Linked DNA regions of Homo sapiens: region 2 is linked to region 1. The links are contacts of gene promoters, found by promoter capture Hi-C in blood cells and fetal thymus (Javierre and others, 2016). All regions are on one chromosome and are shown on one strand. The core of a region is centred on a gene start or on the middle of the fragment in contact, and the rest is flanking DNA. Distances in the headings are between cores, read along the strand shown.

What was found. The method cuts DNA at HindIII sites, captures the fragments that hold promoters and counts their contacts. A CHiCAGO score of 5 or more calls a contact.
Region 2: a contact is called between the fragment with the promoter of HS3ST1 here and the fragment with the promoter of NKX3-2 in region 1, in 3 of 17 cell types (neutrophils, naive CD8 T cells and total CD4 T cells). The highest score is 6.8, in neutrophils.

The regions. Positions count from the first base shown.
Region 1 is chr4:13,542,062-13,546,450 of GRCh38, reverse strand. NKX3-2 (NK3 homeobox 2) reads left to right here and starts at 1,943. Exons shown (of 2, transcript NM_001189.4): 1 at 1,943-2,502; 2 at 3,923-4,389. The coding sequence starts at 2,037. It overlaps LINC01096 (long intergenic non-protein coding RNA 1096), which reads left to right. Exons shown (of 1, transcript NR_015450.1): 1 at 1-375. RefSeq lists a silencer at 4,018-4,147. The HindIII fragment of the contact is 11,352 bases long and covers 1-3,196 here.
Region 2 is chr4:11,426,849-11,431,237 of GRCh38, reverse strand. It overlaps HS3ST1 (heparan sulfate-glucosamine 3-sulfotransferase 1), which reads left to right and starts at 2,344. Exons shown (of 2, transcript NM_005114.4): 1 at 2,344-2,539. RefSeq lists a silencer at 2,199-2,378 and an enhancer at 2,469-2,688. The HindIII fragment of the contact is 3,893 bases long and covers 1,011-4,389 here.

The DNA of each region.
Region 1 (4,389 bases), core at 694-3,193:
GCATTCTGCTGTTCCACTCTGCGTCCTTACACTTGCTGAGCACTGACACCAAATTTAAATGGCGTTCCTTCAAAACTGATGTAATTGTAAAGAGCTGTAAAGGGCAATGACCTCAAGTGGATGTTTTTTCCCAGGTACCCTACAAGGTTTGCACAAAGCAAGAAAGCATCATGTAACCGAAATGCTGAAAAGTATAGATGCTGCAAAACCTCATTCTGAGACTGAGAACTATGAATAGTCAGTGTATTTCCTTCTGCGGTGCAGAAAAAGAACAACCAAAAAGAAAGCAACAAGGGGAGATGTTATTTATTTTAATGACACCAAAACTACCAATCCTAGCAATTTAATAAATTAAAATCATAGTCCTTTAAATGTATTTAATGGTTCAAGTTTGTGTATTTGGTGTTAACTCTCTGGTAAAGTTTATGGAAAACAGTGAAGTACGTTAATTGAGCAAATTTTATATTAAAAAAGGAATAACACATTTTAAAATGTTTTTATATACCCACAATATTTGTGTTTCTTAGCTTGGTTCCTACTATTACATAATACAATGCATTTCTTATTTTTTAAAGAGCAAAAAGTGTTGTCACTTCTGGATCACTTTATGGTAATTCCTAGGTATACTTCTAAGCAAACAAACATATCTATTTATAATTTTATTCAACTCACAAGTAAGAGATATTTAAAAAAAACAAATTGAAAGTTTTTTTTTTCTTCCTGATGCAAAACTTAACAAACTCCAATTAAATTCAATATTGGTCTGCCAGGGAAACGACCATAAAATTTACAGAAATTCTCCCAAAGATGCCTTTCAATTCTTCTCCTGACTTTAGTTCTAACTATACCATTTTTTTATAATTCCTCTATAAAAATCGAATCAAATCAAAGACGACGAGGAAAGAAAAATATTTCTAGAGTGATCTTAATTAACTGATCATTTCAGCAAAGAGCATTAGCAATGAAGAAGCGGCGAAACTGTAGGGAGAAAAAAAAGGATGCATTTTGTTCTTCGTGTTTATAATCCTTCCTAGAGAACAGAAACTACGAGCATGATTTATGGAACTGCATTATCTTGGATTTTCTCCGCAGATTTGACTCAACTTAGTATCAGTGTTCTGTTAAAGCGCTGGAATAAGTGGATACATCTGCAGAGGTAAGAAACGTGGTTTGGGTCGGATGAGCCTCCTTGTTGCTGGAGGGTGCTTCGAGGACCAGGCTTAGGAGAGAAGGGGTTAAGTCAGACCCTGTCTTTAGCGGCGCAACGTGCCCAGTTTTGTCTGTTAAAGTCAACGTCGCCCAACTGGAGCCAGCCAATGGACGGCCGGGAGCGCCCGGGACAGCCCAGTGGAGGGGTGTGGCCTCAGGCTGTCACTCAGCAGTGAGGAATGACACCCGGGCGGGAGGGGGGTGGTACAGTGGAACGCAAGGGAAGGAAAGAGAAAAGAAACAGATAAAACCAGGGCAGGGGGTAAAAAAGTTCCCCGCGCCTCTCGGAATCCAGCGGCCGCGGCCGCGGCTACCGCCGCCGCCGCCGGGGGTGGGCTCCGGAAGAGCCTGCCCAGCAGGGAAGGGGAGGACGGGCCAGGAGCGAAATCCTGCAGGCGAGGAAGGGACAGACGCGCAAAGAAAAAGTGACTCGGGCTGTGCGCCCCGGCGGCGCTCGGGAGGGGACTGCTGCCACGGAGGGGCCCCCGCCAATCCTCCTTCACGTCCCCCGAGGGGGCAGACCCCAGCCCGCCCCTAAGGGCGAGAAGCGATGAGATAATCCAGCTGAGCTGCGAAAGGAGAGCGTCTGGCTCTGGATTCGGGGGGAGGGGGTCTCCGGGCGGGGTGGGCCTCTAAGGTGGGGGCGAGGGTCGGCGCTGATCCTGGGACGGAGTGGGGCGGGAGCTGCTGGGCCGCGCAGCAGTGGGCGGCGGCGGCCTCGCACACCCAGCTCACTCGCGCTGCGGCCGCCGGCGCTCTCTGTCCCGCTCGGAGCTGCTCGGCGCCCCAGCTGCCCGCCCCGCCGGCCGCTCCTGCCCGCGGCGCAGATGGCTGTGCGCGGCGCCAACACCTTGACGTCCTTCTCCATCCAGGCGATCCTCAACAAGAAAGAGGAGCGCGGCGGGCTGGCCGCGCCAGAGGGGCGCCCGGCGCCCGGGGGCACAGCGGCATCGGTGGCCGCGGCTCCCGCTGTCTGCTGTTGGCGGCTCTTTGGGGAGAGGGACGCGGGCGCGTTGGGGGGCGCCGAGGACTCTCTGCTGGCGTCTCCTGCCGGTACCAGAACAGCTGCGGGGCGGACTGCGGAGAGCCCGGAAGGCTGGGACTCGGACTCCGCGCTCAGCGAGGAGAACGAGAGCAGGCGGCGCTGCGCGGACGCGCGGGGGGCCAGCGGGGCCGGCCTTGCGGGGGGATCCTTGAGCCTCGGCCAGCCGGTCTGTGAGCTGGCCGCTTCCAAAGACCTAGAGGAGGAAGCCGCGGGCCGGAGCGACAGCGAGATGTCCGCCAGCGTCTCAGGTCTGCTGCGGCTTCGCGGGGATGGGGGCCGGGCTGAGGGGATGGACGCGGAGGGCAACCACGCCGAGTGGGGTGGTCGGCTTGAGCACCCTGCGCCCTGGGGCTCGGAGGCTGGCCAAATCCCGAAGTTCTGCGCTCTGGCGCGAGCTGCTCTATCACTTCGGGAACTGAGCCCGCGAGAGACCGGAGTAGCTCCTCAGAGCCCTACGTCCTGGGGTGAGGCCTGAGACATCCTGGGCCAATGTGCATTAGACTGGGTTGGGAGAACCGCTGCCCCTTGCGTTCGGGAGTTTTTGAGTTCGTCGCCAGTGCTTTCTGCCGTGTCTGTCCCCAAATCCCCAAAATCAGGGAAGCGGAAAAGTGAGGGGTTCAGAGACCTCAGGTAGCCAGTGACCTAGCTCTGGACCAGAGACCTGCCAGTTCAAGGTCCCAGGGCCGGGCCCCACAGTAGGTGGATAGGTGGTGAAGAACACCTCCGAGTGGGCCAGAGCTGAGAATCTGCAGAACTAGAGCTTTGGGGAAAGGGCTGGTTTGGCTTTCTCAGACCCCAGGTCTGGGAGAGCAGCCCTAGGCCGAAGATCCCGGATTGGGTCTTTAGTTCATCCTGGAGGCAGGAGAGAGGCCTCCTCAGCCGTGGCCTGTCCTGTCCTGTGGTCTGGAAGACCCGGGTGCCTGCCCTAGTTGGGTACAAGCTTCTGTAGGCCTCAAGCACAGGGGACCGCTGGACCTTTCTGCTGGAGTTCTTCGGAAGGGCGGGTACGAGACCGAGAAGCTGGTGTGGGATCAGGGTCCAAAAACTCGATGCAGGGGCAACCCTCCCTCTTTACTCTCCAGTCCATCCTCTCATCTAAGGCCTCGGCTCAGCCTGTTTCCATGTCTCTCACAGCAATCCCAGGCGGCTGAGGGTGAAAGATTCTAAATACCTTTGGCCCCAGGATCCGCCTCCACCTTCCCTTACCTGCACCAGACAAGTGTGTGCTGCGAGGACGCGCGCGTGTGTGCGTGTGAACTAAGTGTGGAGAGGCGCGTGAACCCAAGCAGAGAGACGGAAATGCAGTCTAGAATCCCAATGCTCAACGCTGAGAGCCGGGAGGGCTTTCGCGGATGCTCGGGTCGAGTGCCCCAAGTTACTGAGGGGAGCCTGGGGCCCAGAGAGGGTGGGGAGCTGGTCTCGACAACACAGCGTTGACACAGCGGCTGAGTCTGCCGCCCTCCCCAGAAGAGGCCTAGATGGGATACCCAGTGGGGCAAGAGTCTAAGACTGGTCTCCCGGGCCCAGGGCCTCCCAGACCTCCGCTCCGCTTGAGTGGGATCAAAGTGTATTTCCGCCCCACTCCCGTGACCCCTGCAGTTGAGGCCCGGCCTCACCTCGTCTGTGGCGCTGACAGTCTCTTGTTTCTGTTCCCACCGGGGTCCGCAGGCGACCGCAGCCCAAGGACCGAGGACGACGGTGTTGGCCCCAGAGGTGCACACGTGTCCGCGCTGTGCAGCGGGGCCGGCGGCGGGGGCGGCAGCGGGCCGGCAGGCGTCGCGGAGGAGGAGGAGGAGCCGGCGGCGCCCAAGCCACGCAAGAAGCGCTCGCGGGCCGCTTTCTCCCACGCGCAGGTCTTCGAGCTGGAGCGCCGCTTTAACCACCAGCGCTACCTGTCCGGGCCCGAGCGCGCAGACCTGGCCGCGTCGCTGAAGCTCACCGAGACGCAGGTGAAAATCTGGTTCCAGAACCGTCGCTACAAGACAAAGCGCCGGCAGATGGCAGCCGACCTGCTGGCCTCGGCGCCCGCCGCCAAGAAGGTGGCCGTAAAGGTGCTGGTGCGCGACGACCAGAGACAATACCTGCCCGGCGAAGTGCTGCGGCCACCCTCGCTTCTGCCACTGCAGCCCTCCTAC
Region 2 (4,389 bases), core at 1,095-3,594, 2.1 Mb after region 1:
TTTTTAAGAGCATAGTATGTTTCAGATACCATGCAGGATTGTAGGATTCTGGGATTCAGATACCATGGAGGATTCATCATTAAATCACGATACCCAAGCTCAAGGCGTTTATAATCTATTAGAGAAGACAGATCCCTAAATAGATGTTTCAATAATGTGATTGTGTTGTCATAGGAGAGCTAAGCTCTGGCACTACATGAGCTTCTGGATAAGAAACCTAACTCATGACCAGAAGACTTCAGGGAGAGCTATTTAGGAGCAGTGGCAAATGCCTGGACATACACATAAAACTAAGTAAGAACAAAATAGCCAGTTGGTGTTTTTATTTATCTGAATGTAAGAACATAGATTATCGATCAATGAACAATTGCTCAGATTTAAAAAGAAATGAGGAAAACTAAAATGTTAGTCCTCAAATTCCTGTCACTTCCCACATGTGCCCTGCAGTCATTTCCTGCAAATGGAAACTTCCAACAAAATCTCTGGGCTGGAGACCTGGGGTTCCAGTTTCTTTCAAGGTCTTGTGGTAGGGAACTAAGTGGGTGAGTAACCTGCCTTTGGCTTCCAGGGTGCAAACAGAATCATTGCTAACCCCCTTTGTGTCTCACAATGGGTAATGAAATTCATACTATGGCACCAAAGCACTTTGAGCTCTTTAGAAAAAGTAATCATACCAACTTAGAGCATTAAAACCACCCCGTATTTTGAAGGACTCATGATCTGCACTGTGCTTGGCTGCTGGTGGAAGCTTAAAGACACCAGTAATTGGCAGAACTTTATCTTAGACTTCCATTTGACCCTCACAACCTCACACATGATTTTACACAGCTTCCTATAATGGGGGAGAAAAGCCCTTCTTTTAAATCTAATGTTAGTTTAAATGCTAAGGCTTTCAAAGTGGGCCTTTAAAGTCACTTTTTAGAATTTGTATTTTTTTTTAACCTAAAATAGACATGCCAACATTATTCTGACTAAAAGAAGTAGACAAGGTCATTCAACTCCTAAAAGCTTATTTTCCAAAAGCACAGTTAGGTCTCAGCTTTCAGGGTGCTTCTGGCTGTATCAAAAAGACAGAATATACTGGTCACTGTGTTGTTTTCTGAAAGTGCCGAGGGTAATCTGTGTATGAGTTAAAGGGCCAATTTCCTATAGGAACCTTCTCTTAGATGGGATTTTTTTTTAATTAAACAATGTTGGTGAAATATATTTAAACGTAAATCACAAATTCGAAGTCTTCCAAATATTTATTTACTAATGTGGAAGACATGGAAACTACAGTAATCTCATTTAAAGGAAGTTACTTTGATGTGCATTTGCTTTTGGCGGGGTATGATTGCTGACCTGCCTTTGAGGGCAACTTCCTTTGGCTCAGGTAAGCAGGCAAACCCGTTTCTCCAAGGCGATTCCAACCCCACGCCCCTCAAAACCTTAAATCTTAAATTGAGTTATTGGGTGCAGGTCCTTTCTCCCACAGAACCTCCCAGCTTCCGGAATAGAGGAGCGGGGCAGAAATATCCTGCTTTTTATTTCAGAGCTGACGTTTGCAATCCTAGTGCACTAGCGGAAAAAAAAAAAAAAAAAAAAAAAAAAAAAAGCTGAATTTTCCGCGCTCTCCTGGCAAATTGGCGTCCGCTCTCCGACGCTAAACCAAAGGAAAAGGAGTGTTCAATGGCGACAGGGCGCTCTTTGAAGCCGGCTCCTCACGCGGATTCTGGCCCAGGCCGCCGCTCCGGTCCCAGTCCGGCTGCAGAGCGAATTGGAGAGGATGGCACCTCCTGCTTCCCGGGGGGCGGAAGGAGCGCCAGCGCCTAAGGTGGGTCACCTGCCAGGAAGGGAATACGCATGGTGCAGACTCACGTGGGAGGAGCACAGGTCCCGGGTACAAGTGCCGAGCTGGCGACTTAGAGAAGAGGTAGACTCGGGCTCAGACCAAGCAGGCGTAAGGGAGTAGACGGGACGTCCCGTGTTTGCAGTGACGGCGGAGTCACCCATCCCAGCAGCCTCACCTTCTTGGAGCGCTGGTCCCTCCCCTTGGACTGAAACCCCAGGGGCCACCGCACCGGGTGGGCGGGACCGACTACTACCCGACCAGCCGCTGGAGCTGCGTGCCAGGCGGGGCTGTGCGGAGCAGCTGAGCGCAGAGCGGAGCACCAGGCACCTAGCGGGCCGGACTCTGGGCGGCACCCGAGCGGGCCGGGCAGCAGTGGGCGCTCGCGATCCTCCTCTGCCCAACGCGCTCTCCCTCCGGGCCCGGCCTCCTCCGTCCCCTCCTTTTGCTCCCGCTCCTCCTCCCGCTCCTCCCCCTCCTCGGGATTGAGCACCAAAACGCCCGCCTGCAAGGTCCTCTGCGCCCTGGCAGCCAGGAGTCGCCGCCACGACAGCCGGGTCTCAGTGGGTGCCTGCGCCTTCTCCCCGCCCGCCTGCCCCGGGCCATCCAGAAACTTGCTCTACCCGCCGCGGGTGCTCGGCAGTGCTGCCCATGGCCCAGCCTAGGAGCCTATTTAGGGCGCCGGACGGGCTGGACAGAGGCGCGGCTCAGGTGAGTGCGGCGCGCGCGGGGTGGGAGAGTGGCAGGACGCAGGTGTAGAGGGCTCCGAGGTGCCTTTGTCTGGCGTTCTGGACTTCGGGCAAGTGCAGAACCTAAGAAGAATCGAGGCTGGAGCAGGTGGAGTGGATGCAGAGGGAACCAGGAAGCAAAGGCTGGGGATTTTCCCATCCTCCTCACCTCCTGCCCTAGCACCTCTGCTCTGGAAGTCCCGAGGGACCGGTTGATCTGTAAGGACAGGGACCCAGATTTCTGACTCTTACTGGGTTGGATGTTTTCCCCCCCTGCAGAGTCGTGAGGTTCGCTCCTGCCGGCCGCTTCGCGACCGCAGCTTCACCATAGGACCCTGTAGGGCAGCGAGAGCGCAGCACTCAACGGATCCTGGGTACCACCTGGGGCCAGAAACTGGGGCGAGGACACAGCCCGCAAAAGTAACTCGGCTGAGGGAGCCTTTGGGGGTGGAGAAGCCTTGGTCGGGTTTGCCTTTGCATTTGGTTGGAGATAGGCATCTCCCAAAGAGAGAGATTGAGGTGACAGCCCTGACAATAAACCTCTCATCCCTAATGCCAATTACATGAGGGTCTTGATTTTTTTCTTGTTACTTTTTACTGATTTTTTTCCCCCTTCGTGGTTTTCTATTTCCGGGCCCTTGGGTAGTGGCAGCGGATGGAGGTGAGGGATGGCGGGGTGCGAACCCGCGGTTGGAACGCCTAGACCCCAGCTCCCAGGAAGGGTCTTATTCGCGGAGCTTGACCTCTCCAGGTGCGCTCTACCAGCCAGGGGGCGGACGGCGCGCTGCTCCTCCTTCTAGCCCCAGCCTGTCCCAGGAAGCGGAGGACAGACCCAGAACGTAGGCGGATGATGGGAAGAAGAAGCTGGAGCCAAAGCCGGGTGCCGGCGCGGGATGGGGTGTGCTGGGCTCTGCAGTTATAGGTCTATAACTCTGCAGTTATAGGCGCTATAGGTCTTCCATCTCTTTCCCTCCCCTGGGAGCCAGCGATTCCTCGCACACTCAGGGCGCTCTCTTGGGCCAAGGGTTGCATCCTCCCTCTTCCTCCTCCTTTGCAGATCCAGTGGTACCCTTGCCTCGCCTTGCGCGAGTCTCGCTCCTCCCTTTCCCACAATGTTATCATGAGCTATTTTTATCTACAACTTGTGCCAAGATGCTTTTGGGGGGATTCTAGGGAGGCCACTCCAAATCCACTGTCTTTGCGCTGCGCTCCGAGAAACAGTCTCCTGTTAGCATGGAGCAGCCTCAAGGAGTGGCGGGGAGGGTGGCCGAGAACGGAAGGAGCCAGTCCGCCCTCTTCTCCTCCCTCAGCCCTAGCCCCGGAGGGAAACCCCGCCACCACCAGCTCGGCTGCGCCTCCCGCCAGTAGCCCCGGAAGAGGGTCCCCAGACGAGTCCCCACGCTCCCGCTTTCAGGCGCTGGGTGCTTGGACACTGCTGAGGCAGCAGCCTGGCACAGGCAGGATCCTTCATTCCCACCCGTGCGTTCTCGCTTTGCAGGCAAATCTCATTTTATTTTGTTGAAATGCTTCCACCCAAGGGTTAATTCCAGGAATTCCATCTTTAAAAAAAAAAGAAAAAAAAAGGAGGGAGAAATAACCCAACTTCTGCCTCCCTGCATTTCTAAAGCAAAGCGCATCCTTTGACGTTCGGATTTTTTTCTTGCTTTCTGCATTCCTGGTAATATTGGGTAACACTGGGTGCAATTAGAATAAGCCTTACCTACTGAAATTCCAGGAGACGCGCGCTCCGCTGCAAATCCCTGCCTTACCCTTCCCGTTGTACATCCAGCGCTTAGATTTTCCCCCACAGGATTGCAGAAATAACATATTGAA